Linked DNA regions of Homo sapiens: regions 1 and 3 are each linked to region 2. Evidence: promoter capture Hi-C in human tissues and cell types (Jung and others, 2019). All regions are on one chromosome and are shown on one strand. Each heading gives the region's core, a stretch centred on a gene start or on the middle of the fragment in contact. The rest is flanking DNA. Distances are from core to core; before and after follow the strand shown.

Region 1 (3,711 bases), core at 376-2,875, 340 kb after region 2:
AAACTTGAACCTTGTCTGCCTTATCTATCTGGAAAGATTATGCTTTTAACCTCATCTTGGTTTCAAGAACCCAAAACATCAGTACGGTAAAGATAATGAGCCCATGGTTGCTCATACATATGATGCTGCAAGAAAAAAAAACGCATTTGTGTGGTGTTATTTGTAGCAATTGTTTTCCAACCCCTTCATACCCATTCTAGAGAAGTACTTATTTGCAGGATAGTAATACAACCACTTCAATTTTTTTTGTGAGTTCTTCTGGGTTTTCACATATTGCCCCCATCCATTCCAGGTAATGAAAACACAACTATTTGAGATTTAGCACTCATACTGCTCTTTGTTCAGAGTCACAAATGTCTTATATTTTTCAGAGCTATAAGCTGAGTTTTTCCTTTTTTGGTAGGGAACTTAAACCAAAATCAAGGCTGAAAAAACTAATGTTCCTAAGAGTAAAATGTACAATTCCTAATTTCTCTAGCCTATAATAATGGCTATATCAGCAGCACTGCCACTCAAAGAAAGCTATGAAAACAAGAGGATGTTTTAGAGAAAATCCAAGAAAGAAATAATTTATTATCTTCCAATCCTCAGACAGATATTTCTCTTTTATCTTGATGCCTGACGTTTCTTTCTTAATATATCTACCATGTAGATGGCTCTTTCTGTATCTCTTTTTTTCCCGTTTCTTCTCTTAGAACTCGTCACTAGAGTATCTACCTATTAAGCTCTTAGTCCCTCCCCTGCCTTTTAATCCTCCCTCCACCCTCAATTTCTACATGAAGTGCACCAGCTCTTCCCTTAATTTTTTTTCTTCTGTGAGATGAGCTCCCAAGTTCTTACTTCTTTCTGCTTAACTTTGTGTGAAAATGCAAGGGTTTAAGATTTACAGCTCTGCTTAAAAGGCTCTCTTCCTCCCTATTCTGGGGCTTGACTACTGAGCAAAGAATCCCCCAGCTGAAATCTCAGCAGAAGAGGGGTTTTGAAGACATATCCAGAGCTCCCAGTTCAATCAAAAAAGCAACTTTTGAACTTGTCCCATTACGGTGGCGACGGAGTTTTCACAGCCTGATCCATATGTCTAAGGACACTTTCAGCAGCCTCCATGATGTATTAACCAAACACCTGGATTTAATAAGAACCTTTTCACAATAGGGAGAGCCTGTGTGCACACAGACTTACTCTCAGGTCAGTTGAGAATAGCCAGTGTTGATGTCACAGAACAAGGCCCCACTCCTGGGTAAAGTAACTAAAAGGCAGAGAAAATACAATGTTGAAGAGCAGCAAGAAATGATATATACTGGTCATTAAGAGCATGGGCATTGCAATCCCAGTGTTACCACAGAAGAGTTTGTGTGATCTTGAGCAAGTTAACTTCTCTAAGCCTCAATTACCTCATCTGTAAAATGAGGCTATTTCTGGTAGCTACCTCATTTTTCTATGAATGTTTGATGAATAGTATAAAAAGCACCTATTTAGCACACATGGTACCATGCTTGATAAATAGTTCCTATTATTATTATTGTTTTTATTTGCTGAAGCATCATTGAACCAGGCAACTTCTCATGATAGCAAAGTAGAGTTTGGGCCAATGAGTATATTGTCAGGTTTCCCTCCTGGATAATCCAAGCTTTATACCAGACGAAGTAAATAGAAAAGAAGAAAAATAATAAACAAAGAATTTTTAAAATGTGCTTCTAATATAAATGGTCTAAAAGCAGAAAAGAAAAAATAAAAACAACAGAGAAAACAGATCTGTCATGAATTTGGAAAAGACTCATCCATGAGTCCTTCAAAATTCTTTTCTCAAGGGAGAAGAATCTCCCCCAGACAAGAGAGGTAACAACTAGTCTCAAAATACCAAGAGAAAATGCAAAATTCTGGCGTTTGGCATTGAGCTAGCAGTCTCCAGGTCGTGTTTTTGACCTGTCTGCCAAGTTTCTGCTGCTGGAACCACTGAAAGAGGGATCCTAAGGAAGATACACATATACTTTCAATCCTAAATGCATGCACATTCAAGGGAATGCCCTGGAGAGAGGGGCTAACTTCATCAACCTTACCACACTGGTACTTGTAATGGCTGATATTCTGACCCTGTGGCCAACCAAGTATCCAGAGAGGGATTTCTCCCTTTCTCAGAGTTGGAGTAACCTCACAGAAAGGTTGTTCCAATGGCCCATAGTTGATAGCAGACAAAACAAATTCAGATGTGTGGTAGAATGGGGCCAATTCTAATATCAAGACCATGGTTATGCTGCCAACCACTTCATTGATTTTAAATCTAGTTTACTGGGGCCAGAAAATTCAACAGCTTCTACATCCTAAAACATGAGATGCCAGCAATGGTCAGATGTCCTTAAAATGAGCCTTTGTGTTGATTCTTTTTAGCTGGAGCTGAAAGGAGAGAGCACCTGTGAATTGTTCATGGGCTTAAGTAATTGTTGAATAAAGGTTTCCTTAGTATGTGCTCAAAATTTTCACCTGTGTGGGAAACGGCACCAGCCATGTGCCTCATTTACCTAAAATCCAAGCATTCTCCTCCCTATGGAAATGTAATTGTTCCCTAAAATATCAATGACTTTGTTTCATTCTTGTGAAGTATCTTTTTCACTGATAATGACTTCCAAAGACTTCAAATATCTGAAATCATCAGAGCAAAACTTACATAACGGCCTTTTTTCTCTTTATGAAATAGCTGCTTAAAAGTCGTAATACAGCCGAAGTCCAGTTACATTGCAAACAACACAAAACAAAGTTCCTTGCTTCTTTCACTCGCTTCATCTAGTGACTGACATAGTGAGAGTAATAGCACTGACCCGGTGCCTGGCGAACGTTTCTCCTTTTATAACCACTTGAGCGTGGCAGGCTCTTCCTATTAACTACATTACATCATCATTATCAAAGACGAAAGGAAATTAATTTTGTTTTTCAAGGTCTTGGCAATAAGTCGGTTCTTTACTTCATCAGACATCTGCTGTTTTTCTACGTGTGTCATTTGTGAAGCTGAGTTTTCCTTATGACTTTATTCTCATAACAATTTATCACGCAACAGTGTTTACCAGAGAAGTTGGGCCGACGGATTTTTCTCTCTCCAAACAAAAAGTGTAACATTAACTTAAAGCCAATATCATCATCTATATTTCATTCTCAAATAGTTTTCTGGGCTTTAAAAGAAAAAAAGCCAACAAGGCTGTCAAGAAAAAATAACCACTTATGGTCTCTCTGGTTGAAATGTATTGCCAACGCTCCTCGACTTTGTTTTAACAGATGGGTCTTTATCAGCAAATTCTGTGGGCAGCTCACCAACTTCCCTTAGGAATGGAGGCATGCTTCCATTTGCTTCGGCTCTTATCTGTTCACTTACAGCCACATTTGACCACAAAATTCTAGGTTTTTTTTTCATGTATTGATACAAAGGAGAAACTACAGAGAATCTTCTGTTCTCCAATAATTAGTCATTCCTGGACTGATGGATAGGCTCTTAGCCTGACTTCACATCTGTAAAAAAAAAAAAAAATTTTTTTTGGTAGTTCACATGGATACACTGACTTTACTAATGCTCTGTGCACGATTCCCTCACCTCATGTAATAAGGGCCCCCGAGAAACCTCTTCACAATATTTATTTTGATGAGTAAACTGTTGGGGTTTAACTCATCTTTTTCTTCCTCAATCTCTTCTTCTTCCTCTCCCTTCTTCCAGATGCTAGCTAACTC
Region 2 (3,500 bases), core at 139-2,638:
TAAATCGAAAAGATAAAAGCCAAAAGAACTTTCATCCCCAGAGCTTTTTATTGGGGGAAAGGAATGTAACTCGGGGTGGTTGTCCTTCACTTCCCTACTCGAATCTTCTCCTAATGCCGAAATGTGTTTACAGGTAGCCTCAGTTTACCAAGTATGTATCTTTTGGGGGTTTAACCTCTCACAAAGCCTTCAACTCACAAACCGCGATCCTTGGAAACCATCCTCCAAAGCAGTGCTTGGAGGCCTCTAAGGCCCCCGGACCAACTCCCGCTGGAAGAAGCCTGCAGGGACTCGGGAATCACGGGAACCTTTCCCGTCGGTTCCGGGCCTGGAGGGCCAGGAAGAGCCGCGCGTCCGCCTTTCGTCCCGCCAGGAACTCCCCATAGGACACGACACCGCAGGAACAAGCGTCCTGGGAGCCCCTGGGATCTTGGCTGTCGTCTCTAGGGACCCTACACCGTGAAATGATAGAGGCGAGGTTCCTTGGGTTCCGCAAGTCGACGAAAATAGCTCGTGGAGAAGGCGCGTCCTGCAACTGCAGTTCGCAAGCTCTCAGGGCGCCCCGCCAGCTGGGGGCCAGATTGGGTGACACTCCCCTCGACGCAGCCTCCGGAGCGGCGCGCACTCTCCAGAGGCCAGCAGGACTGCGCTCTCTACCGCAGAACCTGCTCCAGCTAGGTGTTCTCTCCCCATCTCGCCGTCGCTCTGCCCCCTCACTCTCTCTGGACCTCAGAGCCGGTTCTCTCCTTCCTCCTCCCGCGCTTTCCGTCCGGGGATCGCAACCTCCAGCCCGTGGGCAACGCGTTCAGCCCAAGACCCCACAGTTTTTCCCAACGACCCCCCTACCAAGGGCTTCTCTTGTTTCTGCTCTCCTGCCCCGCACTTCCCAAAGGTGAGAATCTCCCAGGGACTGCTGGACAGAGAAGGCCTGGGCAGGGGCAGTAGCCGATATTTAAAGGTCTTTCAGCGCCAGCATCCCCACCTCCAGCACCACTATTGGAAAATAATTAGGCCACCTTTTGCCTCGGTCACAGCCTGTGACCAGCTTCTTCCCCCCAAGGAGGCTCCTAGACCCCCTCTGCCTGTCTCCCCTCACCAGGTAGCCTTGCTCACCATAGGTCCCTGCAGTAGCGGGCTCGCCAGCAGCAGCTCCTGGGGACCTCTGAACGGTTGCAGTGAACCTGGGCGAGGGCCGGGGACTGTGGCGCTGCAGGCTCGAGATAGCTTGGACGGGAATCCCATCGGGGAGACAAGCTAGATACTCAGCCGGAGCAGCAGCGGCGTCTCAGGCTCGCGTCCCTCAGCTCGGATGCCACACTCACCTAGCTTCCGGGCCGGGCTCCGCGCTCCTTCCCTCCCTCCCTCCTCCTCTGCCTTCTCGCATCTTCCTTCCTCCTCTTTCCCTCCCTCGCTTTCTTTCTTTCCTTCCTCCTCCTCTTCCCCGGCGGCCCCTCCCTCCTTCCCTCCTCCCTCGCTCGCCTCCCTTTCTGGGGATGGGAGCCCCGCCCACATCCTCCCCTCCAGCCGCCCGACCTCGCCTAGCAGGCCCGGGTCCCGGAAGCCCAGGCAGCGCCCGAGTCCGCAGCTGCCGTCGGAGCTGGGACGCCGCTGCCTCCAGCTCTGGGAAGCGGCTGGGGCTCACCTGGGGACCACGTGCGGAGGTACTAGAAAGCATGCACCGACTAGTCGCCGTACCTTCCAAAAATACCCATGGGAGTCTGGGCTTCCCTGAGTTTAGTGTAACTGCTGCCCAAACTGATGATTAAAACACTGAGTAATCACCATTTACCCTGAGTAATTAGAGATAATGAAACACCTCTAAAATCAGGTTATGGAGAAAGGAGCTGTTGGATCGGTTTAAAAGGTGGCCTTCCATAAACTGTTAAAAGATTTCCAAACGTTGAGAAACAGGCTGTGTGCAGAACTGTGTGCCAGAGAGAGATACCTCTTGGGCTGTTAAAAGGTGAATTTCCTTCCAAAACATTCTTAAAGTGCGTTTTGTAGAACACCTTGGTGATGACCCTGAGGTAGACCCCAGTAAATGAGCTCACTTCCCTCCTCCCCCCAAGGCCTAAAGACAGAGGTGGCCTGCAGACAGGCTGGGGCCACGTTTTTTACAGTTAGAAAAATCTGTTTCTAGCTCAGAAGCCGTCTTAAGAACCGACACAGCAGTTATTTTTGTTGGTGTTATGGTTGTTGTTGATTTTTTTGTTCATTTTTGGTGTACCTAAGAGTCCTGACACTCTGTCTTTCCAAGGAGATAACCACAGAAGCAGTAACCTTTTAGGCCACAGGGAGACAAGAAAAGATGCCCCTTGGTCTGTTTTTAAAGGAAGAGGGGAGATGAGGAATTGGCCCTTTCATATAAAAACATTTTAGTAATCATATTAGCAGGGAGGTGGAATGTGGTGGCTTTTAAACCTTCCCAAACAGGAACTAATTTCACACACTGCCTCTGATGGAGCTGTGAGGGAGCTATCAGCCTCATCTCTCTGTTTTACAAACAAGGAAAGGCAGGACTACCAGGTTAAAGGGACTTGCCCAGATCTCTGAAGTAAATCACAGCCTCTGCTCCAGAGCTAATGCTTCAGGGAGGGGTTGAGGCTCATAGCCTGAGCTCCAGGTAGCCAGAGGAGTGCTGGAAGACTGAGCATTTCCTGTCCTGGATTTCTTTCCCTGGGACAGACATGACACTTTACTGTCTCTGCAAAGCATTTAGGTCTTTACTTAAACAGATATTGGCCCTGGGTGGCTCATCTATAAAAACTTTACGTTTATACACCTTCGATATTTAAAAAACAAGAACTACTTCCTGTGTGGAACACAGATTACAAAGGGTGGGAAATATCTGAGATCAGAGAAGCAACTGTCAGAGCAAGGCCAAGACATCCTGCCATCTTTTCCATCTATTAGGCCTAGGTCTTTTGGCCTAATGCACCAAACAACAGAAACAAGCTGTATGGCTTTGGGCAAGTCTTTTCATTCCTATGAGTCTCAGTTTTCTCATCTGCAGAATGAAAGGATTGGGCCAGATCATCTGCATGCTCCCTTTATATTTGAAAATGATTTGATTATTTAATTGTAATTTTAGCCAAAGTCCGTCTTCCTTCATTTTAAGTCACTCCTGAGTTCACTTTCTCTAAGAACCACTGATTAAAACAGGGCAGGGCAATAACACCACCCCAAAAGGAGGACAAAATATACCTGTAGCTTCCAAATAGTCAAAATCACAATTAATTATTAAAAATAATAACAGAAAATTAAAACTCCATTAAATAGTTACCTAATGTTTCTCCTGCAGCATCAGGCATTGTGCTCCTTTAGCATGGTACCTGAAGTCAGGACAGATTAAATGCTCACTGAGCCCCTAAATCAATCACTGTTGTTTTAATCATTAACGAAATGTGGTTCTTAATATTTAAACTCAGAAACAACAGTGATATGCTGGACTTAAAGGCAGGACTTTATTTTACTTTAAAGCACCAATGTCATTTCGGGGT
Region 3 (3,334 bases), core at 649-3,148, 270 kb before region 2:
CTTCTAAGGATTCTTCCAGCTTTAACATACTTCAATTCTAAATTAAAGTCCCAGACCCTGCAATCTTGCCTGAAGCTTAGTCCGGGTAGTGCTGCCCTCATCAAAAAGATGGTTGATACAACATAAAATACACCTTCATTTCTGTAATGTTGTATTCAAAGTGAGCTTTTACTCTGAAGGTATCTAACCCCCACAAAGTTCATTTAACTCAGATTTTCCATCTGAACATAGAACTATCTCTTGTTAGGATAAATCACTGCATTCCTTCTCTAATTTTTGAAGTTCACTAGAACATTTCTATAACATAATCCTTGGGGGACCCTGGCATGAAGACTGTATTAGGTGACTGTATAGGTGACATGCTGCCCTAATGAAGTCCTTCTGATATTTCTAGCCATGTATCCCTATGGACTGGCCCCTTAGACAGGCCTGCCTCCCCCATTTCCCCTTGTGCAGCACCAGTGGTGGTGAGATTCTGGAGTTTAGGACATTCCAGAATGTAAGGGCCCATCCGACAATTAAAGCTTGGGGTTTGGTCAGTTTTAGCTTGGAGACATGGCTGATATTTTCTGACACAGGTTTCCTCTCCTGAGGGCAAAGGGCGAGCTAATTTCTCTCTTTGTTCAAATGTTGAGCTGGATTCCAGAGACGGCCCATGCACTGCGGCACACCTGCACATCAGGGAAATTACCCTGGGACCGTTCATGACAGCACCAAGTGGCAGGGATCTTGGCTCCAGTGTCCACTGGAAAAATGGAAGCATAAGTGATATGTAAGAATCTTGGAAAGTAGATGTTTGACCTGAAATAATTGATTTGACCTTAACATCATTCCATTGAAAAAACAAAAATAAAGCATCGACTGCAAATGAAGACCTATGGCTTGCAGTTTAAGAAATGACTGGTGCTGTGCTCTTCAGTATAGATGTATGTTTTATGGAGGCTTTTCCAGATTAGGCATGAATTGGTTTGGTTTTTCGTCTGTACTGAAGATATTTTTAGAATTCATCTTTAATCACACTGTCTCAAAACAGTGCACAAGAGCTTCTTAACTTGCTATTGTATTGCACATGTCTTGATGTTTGTATTTTTCCTGGTATGAAACTGGGAATTATTTTTGATTTGTGCACCATTATTTGGGACTACATTCAATTTAGGAGTTGTTACTGTTAAGATTCATACAGTTGGTTACAGAGTTTGTTAGCCACTTGTTGACTTTCTAGAACATTGTCCTTACAAATAAGCCTTGGTATAAGTCACCACACAATCTAAGAGATGTCTACAGTAATTGACACCACACTTACTTAAGTGTATAGATCCATCCCGAGCTATGACATCTTGGGCTATTGAAAAGGTATTTGTGATCTTTTAACTTAAATTCTAGAATGATTTCTTTTAGTTAGAAAACTATCACAACAACACTTTTCCCTTTGGACTTTCCTTCTCTGTGTGTATTTATGACAGTATTGCCTAGTCAGGATGAGGGGACTTACTAAATGGAGAGCAGAAAGCTGTCTGGTAAGCCCTGGTAAGCTGACCCATTCGTTTGTTCCTGACAAATATCAGGTGTTTTCTCATATGTGCTGATATAAGCTAGGAATTGTAATTATTTCTTTTTGGCTTTTAAAGACTATTTTTTAAGGTTATCCAAAAATATGGATTAAAAGTGGCCAACACAAGTACCCATCCTTGTCACAGGCACTGTGATTTTTTGCCAAAGAGCCTAGGTGAGCTTTTCTTTTCATTTGGTTAATCACCCTAAATTGGTTGTTCATCCCCCAAAGCCATTAATTACTCCAAAATACCCAATTTGCCTTTTTCACTCTCAAATTTATGACCATATAATTAATGAGCCTCTTAATTCTATGTTGTGCATTGACTTATTCAGCAGTGAAACGTGACACTGTGTTAGGATTAGATCGTTGGGTTCTTTCCAATAAATGAAACATTAGATTTCTAGAAAATTTGCTGTGGCATGTCTGAGCCAATTCAAGATTAGATGGCTCAACATGCGAATTACCCATCTGTATAATGTGTAACTACCCGTAAATCTTATCTCTTTCAACATCAGCAACTCCCTAACGCTTTTTTTTTCTTTCTATTCATCAGCTACTTCTAGGTGAGATATGAAACTGGGCTCTTAAAAAAATTTCTGGAACAAATTTACCATGGGAACTGAGTTTAGCATCTTAGTATTCAGTTTCCCTTTGAAAAGTGAACCCAGAAATGTCTCCCTTACTTTATGTGCCCATGTATGGGTTCAGCCAGTTATCATTTTAGCTCTAGACTAAAATGGTTAGCTCTGCAAGGCTCCACATCCCGTGAATACTTTAAAAGTACCTTTTGATCAAGTCAATAACAAACTATTATGGTGCCCATCGAATGCTTAGAAATCCTTGGAAGAAAGGACTTAAAGATAGATAAGCAATTCTGCAGTTGAAGTCTGTAACTTCTTTGTAGTTGCCAGGGCTCTTTCACTCTGGGACTGCTGATGTGGAGAAAGGTTCTCTTACTACCCAACCTATATTGGGTAGTAAGTGTATAGAAAGCTACACACTGAAACATGTAAGAATTCACCAAGGGGAAATTGAATTTCATTGTGAGATAAAATGTTGAAAGAAAATGTTTTCACCAAAATATTTTCTTTCCCAATTCTGTCACTGCTGGCGGTGGAGGTTTCATTTGGGTCTCCTTCAGGCTGTGTGGAGCCTGAATAATGCACTTTCAAACACAGATTCTATGTATGGGCCAATCTTTGGTTAATTTGACAATTAAGATTTTTCTTTGTTAAAACCAAATGGAAAGAAAATGGGAAACGCTGCTGAAATTTCTGTCAAATGTTGCAATTCAAGTCACTCTTTAGACAAAAATATTATTCCTTTAAAATATTTTATGTGAAATAGAAACAGTTTTGTGATAAATTTCACTTCTAGTCCTTTCTAGAAGTCAAAGATCATCAAGTGAACTCATGTCTAATTCACTTGTCACTTACACAACCTTATTTATAGTTTCATTCTCCAGAAAATGAGTAACGATTGTCCAGCTGAATAATCCTAGCCCCAGATATTATGTAATTGTATCTTTCAAATTCTGCCAAGGTTTTAAGATACTGATAACTATTTTAGATCACCTTTGTGCTATTAGGGAATATTATGTATGTTTTGGCAAAAAAAAATTTTATAAAGCTTCATTATACATATGCACGTGCATGCATGCTAATATGAAATAGGGAAATACAATTTGACGTAAAAATTCACTAATCCCAGTGTCATTGTTTATGACTACACTTTCATTCACTTACTTATTCAAAATTATGGGATGTTTCCAATACATCA

What was found. The method cuts DNA at HindIII sites, captures the fragments that hold promoters and counts their contacts. A contact is called where the count stands out against the background at its distance.
Region 1: a fragment that was not itself captured here is called in contact with the fragment with the promoter of BMP4 in region 2 in 1 of the 25 tissues and cell types used here (lymphoblastoid cells).
Region 3: a contact is called between a fragment that was not itself captured here and the fragment with the promoter of BMP4 in region 2, in 1 of the 25 tissues and cell types used here (lymphoblastoid cells).

The regions. Positions count from the first base shown.
Region 1 is chr14:54,296,683-54,300,393 of GRCh38, forward strand. No RefSeq gene overlaps it. Among named protein-coding and RNA genes, the nearest start is that of CDKN3, 98 kb to the right of the region's middle. The HindIII fragment of the contact is 7,875 bases long and covers 1-3,711 here.
Region 2 is chr14:53,955,437-53,958,936 of GRCh38, forward strand. It overlaps BMP4 (bone morphogenetic protein 4), which reads right to left and starts at 1,389. Exons shown (of 4, transcript NM_001202.6): 1 at 1,114-1,389. LOC124903317 reads left to right here. Exons shown (of 2, transcript XM_047432035.1): 1 at 1-892. The coding sequence starts at 465. RefSeq lists promoters at 1-287, 1,215-3,333, 1,215-2,557 and silencers at 513-622, 1,272-1,351. The HindIII fragment of the contact is 13,246 bases long and covers 1-3,500 here.
Region 3 is chr14:53,681,523-53,684,856 of GRCh38, forward strand. All of the region lies in intron 2 of LOC105370504 (a long non-coding RNA gene), which reads left to right. Among named protein-coding and RNA genes, the nearest start is that of LINC02331, 170 kb to the right of the region's middle. The HindIII fragment of the contact is 3,198 bases long and covers 300-3,334 here.